4 separate regions of the Homo sapiens genome follow, and all the other regions are linked to region 3. The links are contacts of gene promoters, found by promoter capture Hi-C in blood cells and fetal thymus (Javierre and others, 2016). All regions are on one chromosome and are shown on one strand. The core of a region is centred on a gene start or on the middle of the fragment in contact, and the rest is flanking DNA. Distances in the headings are between cores, read along the strand shown.

Region 1 (2,700 bases), core at 95-2,594, 8.2 Mb before region 3:
CATGGTTGTTTTCCTAAGATAGCCATTGGGATCTGATTTTCTAGTAATGTAGGAAGAAGTGTTATTTTCTTTTTTCCCCCAAAGACTGTGTATCCAATGTGCCAATAAAATGAATTATTATGAATTTCAAACCGCACAAAAGACTCTACAACAATTTACAAAGCATGAATTAGTACTGTATACATAAATAAATGTTATTCAATAACATGAATAAATCTCACAGGCTTATGTCTATTACAATGCTCATTATTGAGCAGTGCAAGAACTCCAACATAAGACTACATACTGTAGGAGTCCATGTTCATACAGTTCACGAACAGGCAAAACTCATCTATTCCAACTCTTCAGAATAGCTGCTGCCTGCTAGCAAGAGGGAGGGCTGCCTGGGATGGGCACCAGGGAGCTTTCTAAGGCCAAGGAAATGTTCTATATCTCCATCTGGGTACTGGTTACCACAGACATGTGCATATGTAACAATTCATCTAGCTGTTCACTTAGTATACATTAGCTGTACACTTGTGATATTACTATGTTACACCTCAACTGGAAAAAAATTACACACAATGTCCAAGTGCCTTCTAAGTTTCAGCTGCAAATTTAAGAAAGCTGTATTGTTTCACGTGCCCGCACTATTACTAGCTTCTGAGAAATACATGTACACTTACATATACAGGAGGAGTTAATAAAAATAACAGCAGCTAACATTTACAGAGGTTTTACTATATGCCAAGTGCTTGACTTTCATTATCTCATTTAATCCCACAACAATGGTAAGACATAATTTCTGTTATTATACCCATTTTACAGACAAAGACCCCCAAGGCTTAAGTCAAGATCATTGCCCAGGCTCACATAAATAACAAGAAGTGAGCTGGTCTACAACAAGAATAGCTGAAAAGCAAGCTCTATGTCAGCGTCCAAATTCTCTGTTTGTATTAGGGTAACATAAAAATAAAATTGGCCTCACAGTTCCAAGTAACAAAACATAAACAAAATATGTAAGCTAAGTTCAGTAATATAACCCATATATTTTTTCTCGAGTAAGATGAAAGGCACATCAGTGGCTCTTAAGCACTGGAGTCCCTACTCACATTCCAACAGATATACAGCAGAACAAAATGTTCTTTGGGCTAGTTTTTTTATTCTCTCTGGCCATCAAAATATACCGCACAGCAAAGCGACTAAACAGCTGTGAATGCGGACAGGCACAAACTGCAGTGTTTACTCCAATTCATTCAAGGGTCCTTTCAATCTGGCCATAGTAGTAGGAGAAATGCCCAGGATTAAGGTGGAAAAAAGCTAAACATATCTTCAAAAAGGCTTCTTTATTTTCTGAACACACTGTATTGTGAGGAGAACTTGGTAGAGGGCTACATGGGAGTAGGACGGAAAAGACTGTGCACTATTTACAACACGACTTTACTTGGAAACAAAATATATCAAATGAACCATCAAATATGCTACTGCATTCTGCATTAGCTGAAAACCAGGAGCATTGGAATTCACATTCTTGGTAGATGAAAACCAATTAACTACACCATCCACCATTCAGAACTGGTCTTCCTTGAAAAGTACACAAGAAACAAACTGGGCTAATATTCTGAAAAAAAGTTTGTGCCCAAACATTATTTGAGGCAGGGGAAAAGGGACTTGGGAAGGAAGACACACTAATGTTTCTCAAAAATTTTGCTCCAAAGATTTTACAGAATGTTTTTGGCAGATAGATTTTCATTTACTTGGCGCTGCTAGCAAGTCTGCAAAGTAATGCCTCAGAAACACTAGAAATGATACAATTCTTAAAAAGACAACAGAAAAGACATAATCTAAATTAGAATTCTATAATAATAATAATGTAACAGAAACAATCAAATTCTATCAATAGTAAACTAAAATATGCCTATTAAAACAAGCATTTCATCACTGCAAAACCATTTGTTTCACATGAAGTCTGATTTTGCTCTCAGTTTGAAAGTTATTAAAACGATACATCAGCCTTTACAGGCAAGACCAAACAGTAAGATAATTTTACATATTTATCAAAAGATCATTCAAAGAAAACTTACCAAGTCTGCAACGTGTATATGCTTGTGCTTCGGAGGGAAAGCAGAGAAGCCACTTTCTGTACTTACACTGGAGTTCACTTCAGTGCTGAAAACACATCACTGTAGTCCTGCTTGTAATAAAGTCCGGACTAGCAATCTGCCTTTGGGTTGGGCTTTTCTCTTACAAGATAAGCTGTTAAGTCATGCCTTGATTTTAGATCTGCCAACATATGGAGTCTTCTAATGTAGCCTTCCCTCCACCCCCTCAACCCCCCCTGCCCGCATCCCCCCAATCCCCGCTCTGCTCCACTCCCTCTGCACACACACACATACACACATACAAAAAAGGCACTGCAGGGCAGAAATTCCTCAGGTGCTCGCTAATGGAATTCCCAGGGTCTTGGAGCCGCTTCGGGGATCAAGAGATCTCATAGCCCCCGCTGGGGTAAGGAGCAGCGAGTCTGTTCCATTTAATCAAATACAGAATGAATTTTCAGCTCTATTCACTAGCTTGTCTCCAGGGCTCTCAAAAGGCACCAGGCAGCTAGAATCACACACATGTGGCTCTTTTAGGCAAGTATAATTAGCTTGATTTTAAAAAGCCACATTAATAATATCACCTCAGGACCATTATTCAGGAGACAGATGACAATGATAC
Region 2 (2,700 bases), core at 145-2,644, 8.0 Mb before region 3:
AAAAAAATTATACAAACACTTGGTGATGTGATTTAATTCCTTGTCTTTGTGAACAACTATCTCCGTATCTCCCCAAAAAGCATTACCTTCTTCTAGCTAAAATGGGCCTTTTCCCTCTTTCACAAATGCATTTTTTAAATCAATCTTTCCTGATTCACTTCAGCTGTCCCTGACAACTACATGCAACATCTGTTGAAAGACATTTGAAGGTCCACTAAATTCCAGTCACTCTGGGGTTGTATGTTACATATACTCCAACATACATACACACACACACACACACACACACACACACCCCCTTTTTTCTTATGTATCATTTTCTCATTCCCAGTTCTGATGGAAGATAACCTTTAGTCTAGAACCACACAGCCTTTGTATATCTCTACAGCGATCCCTGTAGTCTGCACACAGCGTATTCTACGAATTGCTTACTGTCAGATGTTTAGAAAGGGAGGACTGTCTTATTTATTTATTTCTGTGTTCTCGGTGGTTCCTTATATTGGACGGTAGTTTACAAAAGTTTAATTAATTTGAATGCAAGGCTTTAGAGTGCACCACAAGTAACGTCTCAGTTTTCCTCGGTTGTAGCAGAAAGCAGCTGCAGGTTCCTCCACCTTTCCCGCGTGGTCCTTACCATGCACAGGGAGACCGTAGGGCTTATTGATGACCACAAGGTTCTTGTCCTGGTGGAGAATTCCTCGGGTCAGTGCCTTAGCAAGCACGTTGGGGTGGACTCGCTGCAGCTGCCGTGTGAACCGCACTATTTCTTGCACTCTCCGCTGAACAGCGTTTGTGGACACCTAGGGAGAAAGAAGGAGCCGTGGGGAATGCCTGGTGCGGAAGCCGTGGAGAAGACCTTCCATAAAGGTCTGGGTGAGAATCTGAGTAGGGAATGACTATCTTTGCATCAGACCCGCGCCGCCTTCGACTAATTTGAGAGCAGAGATACCCATCTGTCTAACCTGCGTACCGACGCAGTGGTTAGGACTGAGCCTGACAGTAGCCAAAGATCCAGCTCACGGGAAAACACCGTACCCTTACTGACCCCTCCCCTCCGCCTTCTCCCCATTCTCCCACCTTGCGTCCGGGCTATTGACTCACACGCTTTCACTCAGAGGACCCTCCTACCTACTCCCCGTCTGGGAAACCAATGAGCGCACTGCCTCTAGGGAGTTCTGGTCCCTTTGGACTCACCGGCTCCTTCTTTGTGTCTTGTTCCCGTTTCTGGGCTCGGAGCTTCTCCGCTAATCTCTGGGCATTTATGGCCGTAGAGGCAGCGGCAGCGGCACAAAATGGCTTTGAGACGAGAGTGAAGAGACTCCCGCAACCTTGGCCGTTTCCCCGGATCCAGGGGCCCGACGCGCTCCACCTGGGCGCCGCCATCTTACAAGGAAGGGCGGGGCGAGCCAAGACCACGTGGAGAAGGGCGACTACAATGAGGCGGGAGTGGGTGGGCCCTGCAGGTCACGTGGTGCGGGGTGGGGCCTGGGCGAGTCACGTGGGGACGGTGCGCGCTCAGTGCGGCTGCGCCGGCCGGTAGCTGCAGCTGGAGCAGTGGCGTTTGGAGGAGACTCGGTGAGTGTGTAGGGAAGCCGGGCTGGGGCTGGGAAATGCCGGTGCCTCAACGGTTTAACGTTTTCTGCGTCCCCGGGATTTCCGTTCAAGAAGAGCACTGGTCTGAGAAACGTTTCTCCTTTTGGTACACGATCCCACTCAAAAACTCCTCCCCGCCCCCGCGCCCCCTTAGGAGCGATGTCCCATAAACGCTCGCCCCAGAGCCCTCCTAGGCACCGACGCCGTCCCTCTTAGCCACTGAATCTCCGGTGATCCGCCAGTCCCCTGCGGGACGCGTCGGGGACCCTCTTGATCGGATGCCCGGATCTCTGTAGTCTCTCCACCCTTCATCTTCCAACTCCCAGCCTCTTTGTTTCGCGTTGTAACCTGTACCCTTCTCCTAAGGATGACGGCCCCTTCCCTTATCCAGGGCCCCCAGCACCTATTTCCTACTTAGGAAGCACTGTGAGTGTTTTTTCTGCCCTTCCTCAAGAATTCATTTCTTGGGGGTCTCCTCCCTACCTTCCCTACTCCTCCTAAAGAAAAAGCTGAAAGAACGGAGCACAGACCTTCACTTTTCCTGTTTCCTTTATTTTTCCTCTCCATAGTTTGCAACCACACCATACCTCCTCTCACGAGATGCGATGTTGGGATTCCCTTGCCCGAACTGCAGGCGACTCCCTCTGATTTCACTCAGGGGTGGCTGGGAAGATAAACATCTGTTTGGGATGGTAGTGTTAAAAATAACTTGGGATATACCTGCCATTTGTTAAGAGGAAAGCTTATGCTGAGTTCAGAAAGAATGTCCTGAAAACTAATGGATCTGTGACGATAGAAGGAACAATTTTTTAAGACTGCTTGGAATGAAGGCTGCCTGAGGAGTTATTAGAGAATAGGTAGTTGAATTAGATTTGGGTTCTACACCTCCTAAAGGGTTTGGCAGAAGGGAGCCGTACCAACAAGAAACAAAGTTGATCAGGTGGAGCTACTCATAGAAGACTCAAGTTGAAGAGTTTGAACTAGAGGTGATACGTAGTGAGGAGTCTTTGAAGCTTTTCGAGTAGGGCAGAGAGACTCCTTGAAAGTGGAATTCTGGAAATGAATCTGGCAGTTGAATGCAGGACAGATGGGGAAGGAAAGGGTTTG
Region 3 (2,700 bases), core at 75-2,574:
AGCATGCTCCAGATCACACATCCAGTAATGGTGGAATCAAGATATGAGGTCAGCACCTGTCACTGAGGTCTATCTGAAGCTACTTAATGACTATACTGCCTCTGAATTTAGTCAAAGTCCCTACATCAATTGTCATTAAATACCATTTATGGCTGTCTAATGCTCTGAACCCAGCATACCTTCCTAACCTAGTTTCCTAATGGCCCCTTAGGAGTTAACAGGCCCACTGCAAACACCACATATTGATAAATAACTGCAATGTGCTGTAGTATATCTGGAACCCCTGTCATTCCCAAAAGAGGTACTTTCTGTACCTTCCAATGTTCCTCCTCCTCCATCCACTTAGAATGCCATCCATCTTTGTGATTATAAAAACGACATCACGTTTTCTTAGTACTAAACTTTGCCCGTGGAAAGTCTCCCATTCTTCAAGGCTGGGCTCAAATTCCACATCCTTCTCGAGGCCTTCCCCGTGATTCCTCCCTCCATAAACTTAACAATCCATTTTCCTGAACCCCATCACATCTGTTTGCAGTTCACCCGCAAGCAGGCGCTTTATATTCTTTAGCACGCCACCTGGTATCTCAAAGAGTCTTTGTGCACAACAACCATTGCCTGAATAAACAAGAAAAAGGAACTGTAGGTAGGAGCTTGGTGAGACAAGTAAAGAAGATGGAGAGTGATTAAGGATAATGGAGTAAAAATATCACAAAGGGTTCTCAAAAAGCAGGGAGTGAAAAATGAGTACTAAACAGGCTCTTCGAGAAAAGTTTTTTCTTGGGCTGCCTTTGTGCAGCCTAGGGGCAGCTCACCTGAACCAGAAGTCCCAGCCAGCCTCTTCCGGGGTCTCGACATGGTCACGCTGCAGGGGACTTTAGTGCGGACGATTCTGGAATCAACGGAGATACAAGAAAGAATGCTAATGTCCTCCAAAACCCGCGCAGAGCGAGATGGAGGCAACGAGAGGCAGCCTAGAACGTCTCCAACTTTTGCGAAACACAGACGCCTACGTTTGAGCCCTCAAATCCTTCCCTCCGTTATCTGCGCCATTTCCATCTCGCATAACCTGCCCCTAAACTCTTCTCGGTTCTGTCCTTGGTCCTTCTCATCCAGGAACCCCTATCTCAGTATGTAGTTCACTGGGAAGTGGCTCCACAGAGACACTTTTGTTGGGTGAATATAAGTAAGCCTTGTGTTACCTTGTTATCCTTGCTAATTAGGATCAACTGAATGGATAATCTAGATGATGAAGTAATTTGCTGGCTACAGACCCAACACTCTGCAGACTCGACTGCGGTCCGCCTCCGCTGCGCCGCAGGCTGTGCAGCGCGACCCCCGCGGCGCTTGGTGGGCGGTGCATCTCTGCGGCGCCGAGGCCCCGAGGACTTCTGGGAATTGTAGTCCTGTCCCCTTGGGAGCCCGCCTGGCACCTGGGTTGTTAGGGCTCGTGGGAGGACTACAACCCCCAGGGTGCAGTGGGACAGGCGTTGCCGGGTCGCAGGTCCCGCCAGTGCGAGCGCAACGGAGGTCGAAGGCGTTCAGACTCTTAGCTGAACGCGGAGCTGCGGCGGCTATGCTGTGGAGCGGCTGCCGGCGTTTCGGGGCGCGCCTCGGCTGCCTGCCCGGCGGTCTCCGGGTCCTCGTCCAGACCGGCCACCGGAGCTTGACCTCCTGCATCGACCGTAAGGATCTCCTGGCGGGCAGTAGGACAGGTGTCCAGAACCCCGGCGGACATATGTCCGCGAGGGGCTGCAGTCTCCCCGTTCCATCCAGTCACCCCGGCGTCAGCTCCCCTTCCGGCCAGTCACCCCCCCGGCCTGGCTCCCTACTCCGGCCGGTCACCCCCGGCCTGGCTGCCCCCTCCGGTCGGTCACCACCATCCGGGTCCCCATCTGGCCCGTCACCCCTGCCCGGGTCCTCCTCCGGCCGGTCACCCCCGCCCCGGTCCTCCTCCGGCCGGTCACCCCCGCCCCGGTCCTCCTCCGGCCGGTCACCCCCCGCAGGTTCCCCTCCGGCCGGTCATCCCCCCGCAGGTTCCCCTCCGGCCCGGGTCCTCCTGCGGCCGGTCACCCTCGGATGCTTAGAGAAGTGAAGAAACTTGGGGCTTGGTTGTTGTTGGGTTGGTTGGTTTTTAATCATAACAGTAGGTCATAAAAGCAGTGAGAATATAAGAAGCTGGCTGGGTGCTGATGGTGACAACTGCACAAGAACTCCAGGTCATACAAGATTTGCTCACACACAAAGATTTGGTATCTTAACACCTCTGGCTATAAGACACTTTTAGTGTTGAAACTCATGCAGGAAAAATAATTATTATTGCCAGTGGGAAACTCTACCAGAGCTGACAAACTTGAGTGTCTTTAGGCTCTGAACAGTAATTTGAATGTAGCGAGGAGTGGTGGAGACCCGGCCAGTTTGTGACTTCTCTGCCAAGAATGTTTATAAACACTTTTTTCTTCTGAAATATTTTTAAATTTATTTTAAATAAATGGCAGTTTTCTTTACAACAGAATAAGTCCCTTAGATATCAGATCTATAAAGTACAGTAAGGCATAGAATACTGTTTTCTTCTGAATGTCCTAAAACTCATTCAAGAGGTGCTGCCCTGGCCTAGCGCTTAGAATTTGATAACCCAGATTACCCTGGTTGATACCGAAGCAGATAAGGAATTATTTAGAGGTGGGTTTTGTTATTGTTTGC
Region 4 (2,700 bases), core at 173-2,672, 8.7 Mb before region 3:
TAAAAGGGTGGCTGGTTGGGCGTGGTGGCTCACGCCTGTAATCTCAGCACTTTGGGAGGCCGAGGCAGGCGGATCACCTGAGGTCGGGAGTTCAAGACCAGCCTGACCAACACGGAGAAACTCTGTCTCTACTAAAAATACAAAATTAGCCAAATGGGGTGGCACATGCCTGTAATCCCAGCTATTTGGGAGGATGAGACAGGAGAATCACTTGAACCTGGGAGGCGGAGGTTGCAGTGAGCCAAGATTGCGCCATTGCACTCCAGCCTGGGCAACAAGAGCAAAACTCCATCTCAAAAAAAAAAAAAAAAAAAGTGTGGCTGGATGCTGTGGCTCATGCTTATAATCCCAGCACTTTGGAATGCCAAAGCAGGAAGATTGCTTAAATCCTGGAGTTCAAGACCAGACTGGCCAACATAGCAAGACCCCATCTCTACAAACAAGTTTTTTTTTAATTAGCTGGGTAGGGTGGCACACACCTGTGGCCCCAGCTACTTGGGAGACTAAGAAGGCAGGAGGATCACTTGACCCTAAGGGGTAGAGGCTGCAGTGAGTTGTGATCACACCACTGCACTCTAGCCTGCACAGCAGAACAAGACCCTGTCTCTAAATAATAAATGAAAAGGTAAATTTTATGGTATGTGATTATATCTCAGTAAAAGTGTGATTTTTTAAAAAGTCAATGAATCTTAAACAAATAAGCAAACAAAAGCTTAGTCAGGTCTCAGGTGATGCTACACTACTACCCAAACAGATTCATTTCTAAAAAGCAAGCAGCGTAACAAGAGCAGCCATTTATGTGCTTACTATGTAAGGAGCTTTACCTAACAATACTGTTTGTTAAACTTTTCATCTCATTTTATTTGCACAATGACCTTATAAAGTATGTATGATTACCCTTTGTTTAGGAAAATGAGAAAACAGGCTCTCAGGGATGGGATAATTTGTTCAAGGCTCACACAGCTAAGAAGGGGTAAGGCAGGAGTTCTAACCCAGAGAGCCATCTGACTCCAAAGTTCAGGATAGCCACGTTCCCACTATGTTCATCAAAAAAAACAAGAATGAGCCAGGCGCTGTGGCTCACGCCTGTAATCCCAGCACTTTGGGAGGCCGAGGCGAGCAGATTATCTGAGGTCAGGAGTTCGAGACCAGCCTGGCCACCATGGTGAAACCCTGTCTCTACTAAAAATACAAAAATTAGCTGGGTGTGGCAGCGGGCGCCTGTAATCCCAGCTACTCGGAGGCTGAGGCAGGAGAATCACTTGAACCTGGGAGGCAGAGGATGCAGTGAGCCGAGACTGCACCACTGCACTCCAGCCTGGGTGACAGAGCGAGACTCCAGTGCAAAAAAAAAAAAATGCTGAGAAGGATTTTAGCTGAGTCTAAAACAAGTACTGGCAGGGCTCTGCTAACCACGCTGCTGCTCACTCCTTCTTCTGCAATAGTTATTTTTCCCTAATGGGTTTTTGTCTGTGTTGGAAGGAAGTCTTTTCTTCCACCAACTATGTTGTAGTGTGTGTTTGGGGCTTGGGGGACTGCAAATTAATTGATGATAGACAGATCCACAGAAGAAAAGACAAGGATTATTTACACATGCATGGGGGAGTACTCAGTAAAGGGTAATCCCTGGCAAAAATAGCCAGGGGTACGTGTGACTGCATCAGTTTAACAAAAGGGAATGGTGGTTAAGGCTTCATTGGGAATGTATGGAAGATTCTATTGGGCTTTTTTATTCTGATGCTAATGTACAGTCTTCTTTCTGGCTGGAAGCTGAATTAGACCAAATCTGGGGATTCTCCCAAACCTGAAGGGGGGTTAATGGCAGTCGTATTTTGGGAGGCTCTGCTTTAGTCAGATCAGGGAAGTCCAGATATGATTTCTATCTGCATCTGCTGTAGCTCAAATGGTTTCAGTTTAAAATAAACTTTTTATCTTTCTGAGGGTTTCTTGGTCCCTTCATTTGTTTGTTTCTGCTTTTACTATATTCCCAGACATTCTCAACATTATTGCAAAGATTTTTTTTTTCTTGCTTTAGGTGCTGCTTGGAAATGTCCTTGTCCCTAGATATCTTTAATAAAAGGTTCTTGGGCTCCAGAGCCCGAAAAAGCTCTGGGTGGTATTTTGCCTGCAACCAAAGCTTGACGTCAAAATTTGCACACGTGTTGTAGGATCATTTACTCTGTGTCTCCAGCCCCTACTCTTTTCTTGGTGTTCCTGAGTTATACTTCAGAACAGAAAAATATCAATAGGTTTAGATCTTAGTTCCACATTTGGCTCCCAGCCCTGCTCTAAGGCCCACCTCAGCTGAATTAAGGAGTGAGGTTTGAACTCATCAGCGGATTCTCCTTGGGTCCAGCTGCCCTCCTTTCCTCCTTTTTCTCTCCTCTGCAGGAAGGAAGGCTGCTTCCCCCTCCCCTATTCCTAAGGACTACTTCCCACCTCTTCCCTTCCCTCCACCCCCCCAGCTGCCTTTCTTATGGCTGCCAGGTTGCCATGCCAATAAGGTTCCCATGGTTACTAGGAAGAGCTGCTGCATTCCCACAGGCAGCTTTTATCTACCAAAAGAGAAAGGGAAACTAAATTGCTCCTAGGGAAAGAAAAAAAAAAAAAAAAGGGAGGGGAGGGACAGAGTTGGTCTTAGCCCAGGAGATCCTGCAAAAGGGGTCTTGTTAACTCTGGTATCTCCAGGCTGGACCTTGA

What was found. The method cuts DNA at HindIII sites, captures the fragments that hold promoters and counts their contacts. A CHiCAGO score of 5 or more calls a contact.
Region 1: a contact is called between a fragment that was not itself captured here and the fragment with the promoter of THYN1 in region 3, in 1 of 17 cell types (naive CD8 T cells). The highest score is 6.3, in naive CD8 T cells.
Region 2: the fragment with the promoter of RPUSD4 here is called in contact with the fragment with the promoter of THYN1 in region 3 in 4 of 17 cell types (monocytes, M0 macrophages, total B cells and 1 more); the score reaches 12.4 in monocytes.
Region 4: a contact is called between a fragment that was not itself captured here and the fragment with the promoter of THYN1 in region 3, in 1 of 17 cell types (monocytes). The highest score is 6.2, in monocytes.

The regions. Positions count from the first base shown.
Region 1 is chr11:126,057,170-126,059,869 of GRCh38, forward strand. The region is part of intron 1 of CDON (cell adhesion associated, oncogene regulated); the gene reads right to left. Among named protein-coding and RNA genes, the nearest start is that of CDON, 4.3 kb to the right of the region's middle. RefSeq lists an enhancer at 1-2,700. The HindIII fragment of the contact is 7,089 bases long and covers 1-2,700 here.
Region 2 is chr11:126,210,256-126,212,955 of GRCh38, forward strand. RPUSD4 (RNA pseudouridine synthase D4) reads right to left here and starts at 1,395. Exons shown (of 7, transcript NM_032795.3): 1 at 1,195-1,395; 2 at 635-800. The coding sequence starts at 1,383. It overlaps FAM118B (family with sequence similarity 118 member B), which reads left to right and starts at 1,527. Exons shown (of 9, transcript NM_024556.4): 1 at 1,527-1,575. RefSeq lists an enhancer at 1,180-1,409. The HindIII fragment of the contact is 5,382 bases long and covers 1-2,333 here.
Region 3 is chr11:134,252,028-134,254,727 of GRCh38, forward strand. It overlaps THYN1 (thymocyte nuclear protein 1), which reads right to left and starts at 1,325. Exons shown (of 7, transcript NM_014174.3): 1 at 813-1,325. The coding sequence starts at 855. It overlaps ACAD8 (acyl-CoA dehydrogenase family member 8), which reads left to right and starts at 1,541. Exons shown (of 11, transcript NM_014384.3): 1 at 1,541-1,682. The coding sequence starts at 1,574. RefSeq lists an enhancer at 1,086-1,455. The HindIII fragment of the contact is 5,608 bases long and covers 1-2,700 here.
Region 4 is chr11:125,514,831-125,517,530 of GRCh38, forward strand. No RefSeq gene overlaps it. Among named protein-coding and RNA genes, the nearest start is that of FEZ1, 20 kb to the left of the region's middle. The HindIII fragment of the contact is 1,425 bases long and covers 711-2,135 here.